2 separate regions of the Homo sapiens genome follow, and region 1 is linked to region 2. Evidence: promoter capture Hi-C in 16 types of primary human blood cells and fetal thymus (Javierre and others, 2016). All regions are on one chromosome and are shown on one strand. Each heading gives the region's core, a stretch centred on a gene start or on the middle of the fragment in contact. The rest is flanking DNA. Distances are from core to core; before and after follow the strand shown. Region 1 holds the start of KRT28 (keratin 28). Region 2 holds the start of IGFBP4 (insulin like growth factor binding protein 4).

Region 1 (7,575 bases), core at 4,877-7,376, 360 kb after region 2:
CATCTCCATCTATCAGGCGGCAGTAGGTCTCAATTTCTTTTTCCAAGTGGACCTTGACATCGAGGAGATGCTCATACTCCAGCTTCTGGCCCTCGGTCTCGGTTCTGACCTGGTGCAGCTGCTCCTCCAGGGCCCCGATCTGAGCCTGGATCTGCGCCAGCTGCGTACAGTAGTTGCTCTCGGTCTCTGTCAAGGAGCACTCCAGGGAGTGTTTCTGAGGACATCAAAGAAGCCGTGGCAAGGGATGAAAACACTCTGAGGACTAGTAGAACATTGTTTCTCAGTAATCAGCAGGATTGCTCCCTGGGCAATTGTGGAAATTTGTGAGGCTTGTCACAATCAAATGGGAAAGAAAGGAGGCTGGCATTTATGAAGTGAGGGCCAGGCATGATGGACGTGGGATCCTGACCCGGGATAAATGGCCCTTTTCCCACAAGACTTTTGATGTTCCACTGGACATTGATGATATATAGGTCATATTTCTATTAAAACCAACTGATATATTAAAGCACCTTTTAAGGGTAGCAGAATAAAAAATCGATATGGGAAAACTTGTATTTTGAAATTATATATTTATTTCAGGGTTACCTGTTGTTTCCATCTTACTCTGCTACTGTCCCCGCAGATCCACTCCGCTAGTGTTCCATGGCCTTTTGTGCTACTGCTTTTTTTTTCTCTAATCCATCCTTGATTTTCTAGCCTCTATCAAAGGTCTTTTATTAAGGTACCTGAGATTGAATGAGTGCCTTAACAGATGTGAGATTTCAAGGCAAGAGCTATATCTCATAACACAATACAGGTCATTATTTCGACACTACTCTTATGAATATCATACTTCCTCTTTGCTACTTCTACAGTCTGTAATTTGTCTTGGCACCTGCTGCCTCCTTTAATTAAGGTAATTTTCCTCTTTCCCTTATTATAGATAAATATGTCTGGGCAATTATTACTTCTGTTGATATTAGTTATTATCCAAGTGTCCACCCCAACTTCCACTCTTTCATTTTCCTTTTCTTGTGTGGAGGAACTTCTGATCTTACATGGTTGAAAATGAAAGATTTATTAAGAGAAGATGCAAGGCTCTGCCTCTTTCATTACATTTTCTAGGGTAGTTAGGCCCAAGTATTTACCTAGTAAATACATTTTATCTTAAAATACTTGCCTTTTTATTGCATTTATGGTATTATACTTTAAAAAATAATTTTGTATATTTCTAAATCTATTACCTAGTGACTTCATTCTAGCATTGCAAAGAAGGAATTACACAATATTTGTCTTAACGGGCAGACATTGGGTCTAATGGGGCTGAGAACCTAACACTGACTTAGAGCTACTGACTTAGGCAAACAGACGTGTTACATGGAGGGTGCTGGGCTCTCCAGGAGCAGGTAAGTGGAAGGAGATCAGGATGGTAATGCGGAGAGTAAGGCAACAGGTAGCAAGACGCCAGTGAGGCGTGTGCTCGGCAGCTCAAAACTTTAATTTCCCTGGTAATGCGTCCTCCTAGGGTATTCCTTTTTATGATTGCTAATACACTCATAAGTCAGAGAGGACAGCGTCTCTACTTCACAGTCTTCCACCGTGAAGGCTGGCTTGTCAAAGAGGGAGGAGAACAGGATGAACTTGAAAGTTTGTACATCACAGGAAGCAAACGTGAACATTTGTGTATTTAGACAACTCCCAACTTACAAATGACTTGTGTTCTAACTCTAGGAGATTGAGCTTAGAATTCATAAGACAACAGGGCCTCAGGGATGTAAGTTAGGTACTATGCTCCCATTATTCTAGAATTCAGTTATGTCCTGTGTTAAGTGGGCTTTTTATGTGTGGATTATCCTATGAGCCCAAATTATAGTACCACTGGCTGCACAGACTCTAACTACTTTATAACATCCTTGTTTCTATGTGAAAATGCTCACAATTCTGGTCTGGGGACTCGAAAATGTATTTCCATCAGCGTAGCTCAGAAATAGAGGGAGGATTCACTCACACAGCTCCTGCAGCAGGAACAGAGTCCTCAGGGATCTAGTTCAGGGAAGAAGGGAAATGGAGAAGAAAGGAAGGTTCCAGGAGCCCACAGTGGCAGGGGTGTCTCGGGTACCTGCTAGCAGCAGTGATGAGGGAGAGGAGAAGAGGGCCATCCTGGTTAAGTTAGGGGCCAGTCAGTGTAAAAACAAGTCTCCCATCTAAATCCGATATAGGGAGAAAGCACACACCTTTAGAGGGCGGCTAAATCAAAAGAATCTCCCGTTGTTTTGAGTCATCTTTTCCTTTTTGGCTCACTGCACTCACTTGGGTAACAGCTGCTCTCTTCTTTGTGTTACAACCTGGTGTCCTCAGGAGGCACGAAACCTCTTATGGGGAAGGGAGTCCTTAGGCCATGTGCATGCCGTAATTCTCAAAGTCAAGCCTTTTGGGCACTGCCAGCTCACACTCTAGAAGGGAAGCCATTTTTAATCCTGGGTTGACGCCATGCTGACCTTTGAAGTAAGCCAGGAGCTGGTGGTATGCCCAAGTGGCTGAAGGCCTGGCTCCCAGGTGTGCCCTCCGGGATTTGACCTCTGCCCTGGACTCTGTGGCGATGAAGAGCCTGACAGTGCCCATGTGGCATTCAGGTGTGTACCCTCTCTTCCTCTGCCTGGTGAAACCACATGTGGCTTCTAATATGTCTTCATCAGTATCAGGAGATGCTGGTGTGATGCTGGCTCCCTGCCCTGTGGGACACTAGCCCCACACCCCTGATCATAGACCTGTGGCTAATTTTCTGGTGCAGCAATATTGCTGCTGTTTGTTTTGCGGACCTAAGCTGAATTACCCTGAGAAAGGATCTATGTGAAATGTCTATTTTCATGAAATGAGCACTAAGCATCAGCCAGGAAGGAAACTCCCAGTGATGTCAAGGAGGAAGAAAAAGCTCTCTTTTGAGTGTCTATGCATCTGTTTTTTCCTGCTCTCCTCCACTCTCTCTGCTAAGTATTTGCAGGCAAAGGTATAATAGGAAAAAAGAAGGAAGGGCAGAGGGAAGTGTTTCTCGGAGGCTTTCTAGAATCACAGGATCCAGGCTGACCTTCGCTGTCACCTACCGTGGCCATCAGGGACTGCAGCTGGATCTCCAGGGTCTGCAGGGTGCGCCTCATCTCGGTGAGCTGGCTCCGGGCGAAAGTGGCTGCGCCTGAGTCGTGGGAGATCTGTTGCTGCAGCGAGGCGCTCTGTAGGGCCGGGAAAAAGGGTCACACGGAGTCCCCACCCCCGGGGAGGTGTGAGCAGGGAGACGGGGCCCACCTCACCTTCTCATTGAACCAGGCCTCCGCGTCCTTGCGGTTCTGCTCTGCAAGGGCTTCGTACTCCGCTCGCATGTTGTTCAACAAAACCGCGAGGTCTACCCCCGGGGCCGCGTTCATCTCCACGTTCACGTTGCCCCCAGCCGCGCACTGCAGAGCCTTCATCTCCTGGAGAGAAGCAAGAGTGTGGCTTTAGGGGCATTGCAGGTTCACACTCAGTCTGAGAAGTTCTCAAACGTGTTACTTTATGTCTCAAAGTTTGCGGTCAGGTGTATAATTTATGGCACACAATTTTTTAATTGACATATTCGGTCCATATTCATGCCAATCATCTATTTAATTAGTGAACTGTTGACCGGGCGAGGTGGCTCACTCCTGTAATCCCAGCACTTTGGGAGGCTGAGGCGGGCGGATCACTTGAAGCCAAGAGTTCCAGACCAGCCTGGCCAACATGGCGAAAACCCATCTCTACTAAAAATACAAAAATTAGCCAGGCTTGGTGGTGTGCGCCTGTAGTCCCAGCTACTCCAGAGGCTGAGGCAGGAGAATTGCTTGAACCTGGGAGGTGGAGGTTGCAGTGAGCTGAGATTGCGCCACTGCACTCCAGCCTGGCCACAGAGCGAGACTCTGTCTCAAAACAAAGCAATAGAAAACAAACAAAAAAAATTAGGGACCTGTTAATTAAAATTACCACCACCACCAAAAACAGTCATAGCACCCCAAGAGAAGTAATTTATTCTTTTAAATGAGAAAGGGATTTAAAGACCGGAGAGTTACTCAACATATAGTTACTGACTAAATGTCAGGTTGATGGGAATAGAACAGTAGAAAAAATCCTGAAATCCTGGCCCTCATAGGCATTCATCCTAGGGATGACCGCTGTCATTTATTGAGTGATTATTATAGGCCAGGCACTGTTCTGAGCGTGTGATATGTATTAATTCATTGAAGCCTTTTAACATCCCCTCGTAGTAGGTAGTATTATTAGACTAATCTGTCTGTATCCGTTGGCAAATTATAACAATGAACCTGAATTACTATTGTGATTTTAACCCCCAACCCCTGCCCAGTATTTAAAATGTACAGAGTTGTGATTGGACTACAGGTAAAGCTTCTCCTACCTCTTCGTGGTTCTTTTTGAGATATGTCATCTCCTCACTCAGAGACTCATATTGCAGCTCCTGGTCGGTCCTGCAGAGCGTCAGCTCGTCCAGGACTCGCCGTAATCCGTTGATGTCGGCCTCTACGTTTTGGTGAAGGGTGAGCTCATTTTCATACCTTGGGGGGCATTTAAGTGAATTTCAGTGCCAGTAAGACTACCCCAAGAAACAGAAATATTCAATCCCAATTGCTTTAAACTGAAAATTAGAAATTGAATTAGGACTGTAAATAGTATAAAAATATATGAAGAAAGCGCTCCTGCATTACCCCCACTCAATTCTGTACAGGATAATTGGAAGTTATTTCATCACACAAATTCCAATAGCATAACCTAGTTAAATAAAAATACACCATTTTGGAATTTTATTTTAGTTAACGTTTTTCCTTAGTTGACTAATGATTTACTGAGCATCTACTTTGTGCTTGGCAGTATTCTAGGCAGGCAGAGAAATATATTGATATTTTGTCCCAGGAATATAATAACTATGTATAAGTTGATTGTAACATTATAATACAAATCCTTTGCTTCCTTTTATCTTTTAGGTGATAGTTCATTCTACTTGGGATGAAATAGAAATTTTATTTAACAAATTAAATAAATAGAAACTTTTTTCTAGAGCAGGATTTTCTTCTGTCACTTACTTTAGCCTGAAATCATCAGCAGCCAGTCTGGCATTATCAATCTGCAGAATGACATTAGCATTAGTAGTAGTGGAGGAGATAATCTAGAATAAACCAAAACAGAGAACACAACAAGTAAGTATGCTTTTATGTGATTCATTATTTCAGGAAATGAAAAAGGTTACTCAAGTTTTTGCATAAAAATTTCACCTCCTTATGTAATAATCAAAATGTTTCAAGTTTAACTTTTAAAAATTAAAGACATGGTTTTATTTATTCTCATATATTCCCCTAAATTTAGAACTACAATACTTTTTTATTCATATGCCTATGAATGTACTTCAACATAAACAATGGAACTAATAACATTTTAACTACATTAAAATTCATGAATCAAAGGGCCCATTTTTGAATAGTAGGAAGAATTGTTTATCTAAATAAATAAATACAAGTTATAACAGTCATGAAGCATTTCTTATTGTATGTCTTTTGTTAGGTATTTCTTAGTTTTAAATACTTGGGTTAGTTCCAAATCTGTGATTTCTCACCTTATTCTTAAGATCCTCAATTGTTAGGTGATATCTGCTATAGTCATGATCAAGTCCACGGCAAGATCCAGGTCCGTATTTTTCATACCAACCCTTGATTTTTCTCTCTAATTCAGCATTTGCCTCCTCCAGAGCTCGCACATTATCCAGGTAGGATGCCAAGCGGTCATTAAGATTTTGCATGGTCACCTTCTCATTTCCAGAGAGGAGTCCCCCTTCGCTTCCAGCAAAGCCAATACAAGCAGCATTTCCAAGGGCACCACCAGCATGGCTCCCACCAGGAACACTGCCCAAGCCCCCTCCCAAGGCACAGGAAAATTCACTTCCAGCAACAGAGCCACCACATGCACTGCTGCCTGCAAAGCCTGCACCTCCATTGAGGGGTCTGACAGATCCAGCTCCAGACCTTAAGCAAACATGCCTGGATCCATTAGAAAATTGGAGAGACATGGTGTTTTGAGAAATGTTCACCTTGTCTATGCAAAACTGTAATGTCCCAAGAGAACAGAATATCATGCACTGATAATTTCTTTGGGTTTTTATATATCATTATTGGGGCGTTCCTATTTGAGTTATACATGCCAAAAGCAAAATGGCATCACTTAGATTAGCATAAAATTATGTATAATTGGGTGATTTTAAAAATAATTAATGTCTAACATCCCTCGGTGTTGCTTTGGGCTATTTCTTATCTTAAATATAATAGGGTTTGTTCTATATTAAGTTTATTAATTTAACTTCTAATTTTGAGTGAGTAATCCTTTCCTTTCATCTAGACCCTAGGCATATACTGTCATTATCTGGCGCCAGGTATTATCAAATTTTTTATAAAGTTAAGTAAGATTATGATAGAGTTCTGTGAGGTACAGTAGGGTCTCAATTACCATGGAGGGGTATAAAGGACTGCTAATTACAGAAACAGATATTTTATCCCACCAGAAAAAAATGTGTTATTTAGAAAACAGAGGCTAGTGACATCTCTGTTCTTACCATGATTATAACATCTATTTATTATCTTGGACAATGACACAAATATTGACCTATTATTTTGTTTAAAATAGCATGGTTATGATGTTTGGTGCTCTATGCTAAGTGCTAAAATGAAAGACATAGTGTTAACTAAATGCAGAAGTGAAAAATGCGTGATTACAATCTTTAAGAAATCTATTGTCAGGTCCAGACAGGGGCTGGATCATGGTTAGCTTTCTGTGCTGGTCTAAAGAGTTTGTAATGAATCCTAAGTAAAAAGCAGAGGGCAAAATGATCAGGTTGAAATGAAACAAGGTGGTCAATTACAAGGTTGGAATAATGGTCCAGGTGAGAAGGATGAAGGCAGTGGGGATGCAGAGAAGATGGCTTTGAGAGCATATGGTAATATGATTGAATTTGGAGAGTAGGGAATAAGGCAGAATTGGGGATAACTCTTAGGTAATTAATTTTAGATTCTGGGAACTCATAATATTCACTGAGATGGGGAATAGAGGAGGAGGAAGACACTGAGTTTAGGTTTGGACCAACTGGATTTGAGGGGTTGCCAGAATGTTCCAGATGAAGGTGACTGATAGCAAGAATGACTGTTTAGAATATGTATACTGAACTGGAAAAATACTTGACTAGCAATGAGTAAAAGAAAATTGGAGGGTCCAGCTCTCATTTATAATGATGTTCAACTGCATATTTGGAAGTAATCCTGGTGCAGGAATAGAAAGGATGATGATCAGATTGATGTGGGTTTTGGGATTTGAAGACAGGTCCAGAAGAAGGAAATAGTGGCAAAGAAATTTCTGGTGTTCTTGAGAAAACAATTGAGGCGATTGACTGTATGATCATATAGCAAGAAGAAAGTAAAACCAGAGGGACAGATGGACTGAAGAAAAGGGCAGAGGGTGAGTCATTGGGTATCCTTATGAGGTCATGGAGCAGGCGGAGTGTGAGGAGGAGATTGATAAAGGTGAAGGATGACA
Region 2 (6,611 bases), core at 413-2,912:
CAGCCTCCCAAGTAGCTGGGATTACAGGCATGCGCCACCACGCCCGGCTAATTTTTGTATTTTTAGTAGAGATGGGGTTTCACCGTGTTGGCCAGACTGGTCTCAAACTCCTGACCTCAGGTGATCTGCCCACCTTGGCCTCCCAAAGTGCTAGGATTACAGGCATGAGCCACTACGCCTGGCCTTCTTTTTTCTCTTTCTTTCTTTTTTTTTTTGAGATGGAGTCTCGCTCTGTCGCCCAGGTTGGAGTGCAGTGGCGCAATCTCAGCTCACTGCAAGCTCCACCTCCCGGGATCATGCCATTCTCCTGCCTCAGCCTCCCTAGTAGCTGGGACTACAGGCACCCGCCACCACGCCCGGCTAACTTTTTGTATTTTTAGTAGAGAGGGGGTTTCACCGTGCTAGCCAGGATGGTCTCGATTTCCTGACCTCGTGATCTGCCCGCCTCGGCCTCCCAAAGTGCTGGGATTACAGGCGTGAGCCACCGCGCCCGGCCTTCTTTCTTTCTTTCTTTTTTAGACAGAGTTTCCTTCTTTCACCTAGGCTGGTGTGCAGTGGTACAATTCTAGCTCACTGCAGCCTCCAACTCCTGGGCTCAAGTGATCCTCTTGCCTCAGGCTCCCGAGTACCTGGGACCACAGGTGAACGCCACCACACCTGGCTAATTTTAAAATTTTTTTGTAGAGACAAGGTCTCACTACGTTGCCCAGACTGGTCTTGAACTCCTGGGCTCAAGTGATCCTCCCGCCTCAGCCTCCAAAAGTGCTGACATTACAGGTGTGAGTCACTGCTGCAGGCCCCTCAAATCCTTCACTGCCATCTGGGAAATGATCACAACAGCTCTACAAATACACAATGATTACAAGGAATGGTGCCCCACTGGAGTTGTTCAACGCAAAACTTGCACATTGCAAGTGGCAATCTCCCAGGCCTGCCTCCCTCCACGAGTGGGTCTGAATGGGCCTGAGAGGCAAACATCCAAGAAGGAGGAAGAGGCTCGGCGGCACCTCCCTCCCCGGGAGTTCTGCTGATTCCATCTTGGGGAAGCAGGGTGGACCAGGGCCCAAATGCGCCCTGGGGAGATTGCGGGGGCGGGAGAGGTTGCAAGGGGCAAGTGGCAAGAGCCTGTTAACGTCTTAGGGCCTCCAGGCCTTTCTGTGCCCCTAGCTGTGCCTGTACGCTTTACCCCACCTCAGGAGGCTTGGTCTCCAGCGGTTGAGGCTGGAAGCACCGGGGTGCGGTGGAAAGGGCTCTGTCCAGGAAGACCGGATCCGCAGAGCCGGGAGTCCGGGCTAGGAAGTCCCTTTCTCGGTGGGAGACTGAGGCCGCCTTGGCGGGGCGGGACGAGACTCCTCCGAGGTCGGGAAAGGGGGCCCCGCAGCAGCCCCTTGGCTTCCCTTCTCCCTTGCCTCCCCTCCGGGGCTCCGGTTCAGAGGCACTCTGGGCGCCTGCTACAGCTTCCAAACTGCGCCGCTTCCTTCTTCGGCAGAAAAGGACTTTCAGATGCGGCGGCGGCGGCGGCGGCGACTCAGGACAGCGCCCCCTCCCCCTAACGGCCGCCTCTCCCTCTCCCCCTCGCCCGCCCCGGCTCCCCCACCTCTGGGAAGGCGCTGGGGGTGTGGCCAGGGACCGGTATAAAGTCCGGGGGAGCCGGTCCCGGGCAGCCGCTCAGCCCCCTGCCCCTCGCCGCCCGCCGCCTGCCTGGGCCGGGCCGAGGATGCGGCGCAGCGCCTCGGCGGCCAGGCTTGCTCCCCTCCGGCACGCCTGCTAACTTCCCCCGCTACGTCCCCGTTCGCCCGCCGGGCCGCCCCGTCTCCCCGCGCCCTCCGGGTCGGGTCCTCCAGGAGCGCCAGGCGCTGCCGCCGTGTGCCCTCCGCCGCTCGCCCGCGCGCCCGCGCTCCCCGCCTGCGCCCAGCGCCCCGCGCCCGCGCCCAGTCCTCGGGCGGTCATGCTGCCCCTCTGCCTCGTGGCCGCCCTGCTGCTGGCCGCCGGGCCCGGGCCGAGCCTGGGCGACGAAGCCATCCACTGCCCGCCCTGCTCCGAGGAGAAGCTGGCGCGCTGCCGCCCCCCCGTGGGCTGCGAGGAGCTGGTGCGAGAGCCGGGCTGCGGCTGTTGCGCCACTTGCGCCCTGGGCTTGGGGATGCCCTGCGGGGTGTACACCCCCCGTTGCGGCTCGGGCCTGCGCTGCTACCCGCCCCGAGGGGTGGAGAAGCCCCTGCACACACTGATGCACGGGCAAGGCGTGTGCATGGAGCTGGCGGAGATCGAGGCCATCCAGGAAAGCCTGCAGCCCTCTGGTAAGGTACCCCTGGCCTCCCAATTCCCTCCTGAGTGCGCTCCCTTCCCAGCGGCTTCTTCCCCATTCCAGCCGCCCTGGAAGGCCCTTAAAAATCCCCTATGAGTTGAAGAGAAGGCAGGTACGTGGCAGGGCCCGACTGGCATGGGACAGGCTCATCAAGGAAACTGCTACCGAGTCCCTAGCAGCCTGTTGCCACCACCAAGGGAGACTGTCCCATCGCTCCATCTCAAACCTCCAAGGGTTGTCTGTTTGATAAGGGGGTCCCAGTGGGAGGCCTGGCTGCTGGTGCAGGAGTGGCAGATTAAGGTCCAGTTAAGTCAGCTGTCTAGGGCCAGAGAACTGGAGGATGGTGGTGGGGTGTGTGTTGGGGAGGATGAGGGAGTGGGGAAAGCTTTCTGTTCCTGATCCAGGCCGAGGGTGAAATCCCAGTGGTCTGGGGAGCCAGGGCCTGAACTTTTTTTTTACATGGTCCAGTGGTGGAGTGGGACATACAAATTAGAGGGACTTTGGCGTTGAGGGGCATTAGACTTGCCCTTCCCCAAAGCCCAGAGCCAGGTCACCTTGTTGTTTGAGAGGCAGTGGGAAGACAGGGGTCCCTCTGCCAGGCCTGGACACCTCTGCCTGCCCTGGTATACAGGCCCCCTGTTCTTTTCTCCAGGCAGGTAGGATTTGAGGTGGTAGAAAAGTCTTGGCTCCTAGCCGAGAGCTGCAGGAGCCTCATGTGTGTGGGATAGGGAATAGAGAAGGGGCCAGGGCGCCAGGGGAGAGAAACAGAGAGAGAGAGAGAGAGAGAGAGAAACACACACACACACACACACACACACACACACACACACACACAGAGACAGAGAGAGAGAGAGAGAGAGAGAGAGAGAGAGAGAGAGAGAGAGAGAGAGAGACTCTGAGAAGGCCCTTGCCCTAACCTCATTCTTACACTTTCTTTTTTTGTTTCTCAGTTTCTCCTTAGACTCTCAGTCTCTTTTCCTTCTTTCTCTTGCTCTTTTGTTCTTCCTGATTTGTCTCTCAACCTCTAGTTTCACTAGTCATGCTCTCGAGTTCTGTTTTCCTCAGTGTCTTCTGCCCATCGTGCGTTTCTTTCTCCACCTTATTCTGTGTTTCTGTTTCAGTTGCTCTGCTTCTCTCCCTCTCTTTCTGTTGCTGTTTCTCTGTGTCTCTGTCACTGTTGGTCTTTCCCTGTTACTTTGGGAATCTCTCTGTCTGTCTTTCTGTATCTATGCCTCTGTTTCTCATTCCATCTCCGACCCTGTTTTGCTCTCCTGTGCCTCTGTCTGTCTCTGTCTCTTTTCCTGGTGCTTGAAGCTTCCATTGTTGCAGTCCGGATGCTGGGACTCCAGCCCCAAGCTTCCTGTCCTGGGACCCAAACCCTCCACTTCCTCAATCCTCTGCAGCTTGTCAGCCGAGGAGAGCAGGATGCAGGGAAAACAGGAAGGAGGTGGACTCCAGGGGTCTGGGCCTCGGGCCTCTCTGCCCTTCCTGCCCCTGGGTAGGGAGAGATGGGTCAGCAGAAAACATTCTAGGAGAAATGCCAGCCTGGCACCCAGCATATCTGGGAAGGGGGGTCCTGGGGGAGAAAGTCGCTAATCTTGGGGCAGAGATGCCAGTGGCAATGGTAGAGGAGGGGTACTGAGACTGGGAGGGAGCAAGGGCCGAGCCCTTGGGTTCGCGGGGTACAACAGAGTCACGTTCCCTTTGAATCTCCATCCTCCACCAGCCAGAGGGTATCTGGCACCAGATAAGGATGGCTGGTAGCCTCCTCCTCTCTCAGCACTTTGAATGCAAGACAGAAGAGCCCTCAAAGGGCTGGGTAGGAATACCTCATCCTCTGGTTGGGTAGGAATACTCCATCCTGTAGTGGAGGAAAATAAGATCCCCTAGGGGTTTGGGGAGGGCATGGCATGAGAATTTTGTGGTTGTCCTCTGGATATAATGCAAACTGGCCTCCAGGAATATCTAGGGGCTGGGTGTGGAGGTTCATGCTTGTAATCCCAGCACTTTGGGAGGATTGCTTGAGGCCAGGAGTTCGAGACCAGCCTGAGCAATATAGCCAGACCCCCGTCTCTACAAAAAAAAAAAAAAAAAAATAGGCAACTGCAGTGGCTCATGCCTGTAGTCCCAGGTATTTGGGAGTCTGAGATGAGAAGTTCAAGGTTACAATGAGCTATGATCACGTGATTGCACTCCAGCCTGGGCGACTCTATTTCGTAAAAAAAAAAAAAAAAAAAAGTAGGCCGGGTGCAGTGGCTCACACCTGTAATCTCAGTATTTTGGGAGGCTGAGGAGGGTGAATCACCTGAGGTCAGGAGTTTGAGACCAGCCTGGTCAACATGGTGAAACCTCGTCTCTACTAAAAATACAAAAATTAGCTGGGCATGGTGGTGCGTGCCTGTAGTCCCAGCTACTTGGGAGGCTGAGGCAGGAGAATCACTTGAACCCGGGAGGTGGAGGTTGCAGTGAACCAAGATTGTGCCACTGCGCTTTAGCCTGGGTGACAGAGCGAGACTCTGTCTAAAGAAAACAAAACAAATAAACAAAAAAAACAAAAAACGGTGTCTTGGAATGGGGTGGCTTTAGGTCCCCTTTGGATGACACAGCCAAGGTCTGTAATGCCCCTCCCCCTTTCCTCCTTGCCTTGTCCTCCAGCCTCCAGCCATGCAATGGATGCAGGTATCTGGAGAGAGACGAGGGAAGCCTGGAGGTACCTACTGAGCAAGCTATGCCCGTGCCCTCCCACACCTCCTAGTCATCATAGAAGTAATCCCTTGCTGTGACCTGGGCCACATGGCACCATGTAAAAGGCACTCTCTAGAGTTCTGCTGCAGCCCTGCAGGGTCTGTGGGTGAGATAAGACGACCAAGCCCCTACCCACCCATCTTTTTAGCCTTACACAGTCAGTAGGCCACTGTCTGCTTTAGGTCCCAAGGTTTGGGCCCACTGGCCCGCGAATAGCTTGGTCGAGGGTACCTGTCTATTTTTTCTGCCTTTTCCTTTTGGGGCTGAGTGTCAGCAGGTGGCTGGGGGAGGGTGGCCACTTGGCATGCCCCCTTCTTTGGCTGCTATGGTCCAGCTGCCTCCTGTTTGCCCCAGGGGCAGATCTCCCCTTTCCGTCTCCAGCCACCCCTGCCTGCCCTCCTGTCACAGCTTTCCATGTGCTGGCCAGGTTGTGGCTTAACACCACTGAGGCCACCAGAGATGAGGCGGGGCGTGTGCATCAAAAGTCCACACCTCTGCATCCTGGTACTGATCCTAGACTCATGGAATCTGGGGGAGTGGACAGCGGAAAGATCAGCGTTTGGACGGGGAGTTCCTAAGCTGGGCTCTCAGTCCCTTTGGGACAGGGTTAGGGAACAGGCAGGCTGGGTTAATTTTTAGTCAATGCAGCAAATTCTGCCCCCCTACTTCAGTACTGGGAATCCAGTTATGTCATGGGAACAAGGGCATTCCCAGAAATTCTGTGCCTTGTGGGGAGGGGGAGGGAGGAGCATGGCCGCTTCCCATTTTTAATTTAGTACTGGCAAAGCTAGCAGTATTGGTGCCTCGGGTATCAGGAGTCTTTCCACTTAAAGACAGAGTGCTGCAGAGCTAAGTCTCTCCTCCTCCCCTTCCACCCAGTCTACTTCATTTTCCTAATTTTTAAAGTGGGGAGGGCAACAGGACCTGCCTCACAGGGTTGGGGCGTCTGGCATCGGGTAAGAGCTCAATAAATTGAAGTGATGAGGAAGATGGTGATGAAGAAGCTGATGCTGGGACTTAGGGAAGCGGTAGGACGAGGGAGCAAATTTGGGGCAACATTCAGAGGAGTTGAGAGGGGTGGGGTGGCCTTTGGTGCATTTTGCTGCTGTCAACATGGGAAGAACAGGCCAAGTTGCCTTATCTGTTTTTTATTCTGAGGCTGGCAGCATGACACAGCTGTTGGGGGTGATACCCCTTGAGCCAGACCTCAGAGAAAGGGCCTGGTACCCAGCACCAGCGGTCTTGGCTTCTCCAGCTAGAGTCTAGGGGAAGAGGGAAAAGACCTTTCTAGCAGGACAGGTGGGTGACCCTCTGGATCACAGCTGAAACTTCTGGTCGGGATGGCTGGGCCCACTCAGTTCATAGCCTAGGTGTCTCTCGAGGGCCAGGGGCTGGCGTTGGGGAGAAATTGTGAGGGTAAAATCAGGCAACAGGAAAGAGGAAATCCTCTGGCTTTCGCCACAAACTTTGCAGCCGGTGGTGCCAAAGCCGTGTGGCCTCTTCTCTGGCGCCTTCCCTTCCTCTGCTGCTGGAGCAAAGACCGAGGTTTCCCCTATAGTCA

The links. Contacts are between HindIII fragments. The CHiCAGO score rates a contact against its expected background, and 5 or more counts as called.
Region 1: the fragment with the promoter of KRT28 here is called in contact with the fragment with the promoter of IGFBP4 in region 2 in 1 of 17 cell types (naive B cells); the score reaches 5.0 in naive B cells.

The regions. Positions count from the first base shown.
Region 1 is chr17:40,793,833-40,801,407 of GRCh38, forward strand. KRT28 (keratin 28) reads right to left here and starts at 6,127. Exons shown (of 8, transcript NM_181535.3): 1 at 5,612-6,127; 2 at 5,085-5,167; 3 at 4,403-4,559; 4 at 3,288-3,449; 5 at 3,084-3,209; 6 at 1-214. The coding sequence starts at 6,061. LOC105371776 (a long non-coding RNA gene) reads left to right here and starts at 7,502. Exons shown (of 4, transcript XR_934753.2): 1 at 7,502-7,575. RefSeq lists an enhancer at 4,106-5,305. The HindIII fragment of the contact is 3,919 bases long and covers 4,391-7,575 here.
Region 2 is chr17:40,441,788-40,448,398 of GRCh38, forward strand. It overlaps IGFBP4 (insulin like growth factor binding protein 4), which reads left to right and starts at 1,663. Exons shown (of 4, transcript NM_001552.3): 1 at 1,663-2,297. The coding sequence starts at 1,949. RefSeq lists silencers at 1,560-1,749, 1,760-1,809, 1,820-1,869. The HindIII fragment of the contact is 4,750 bases long and covers 1-2,688 here.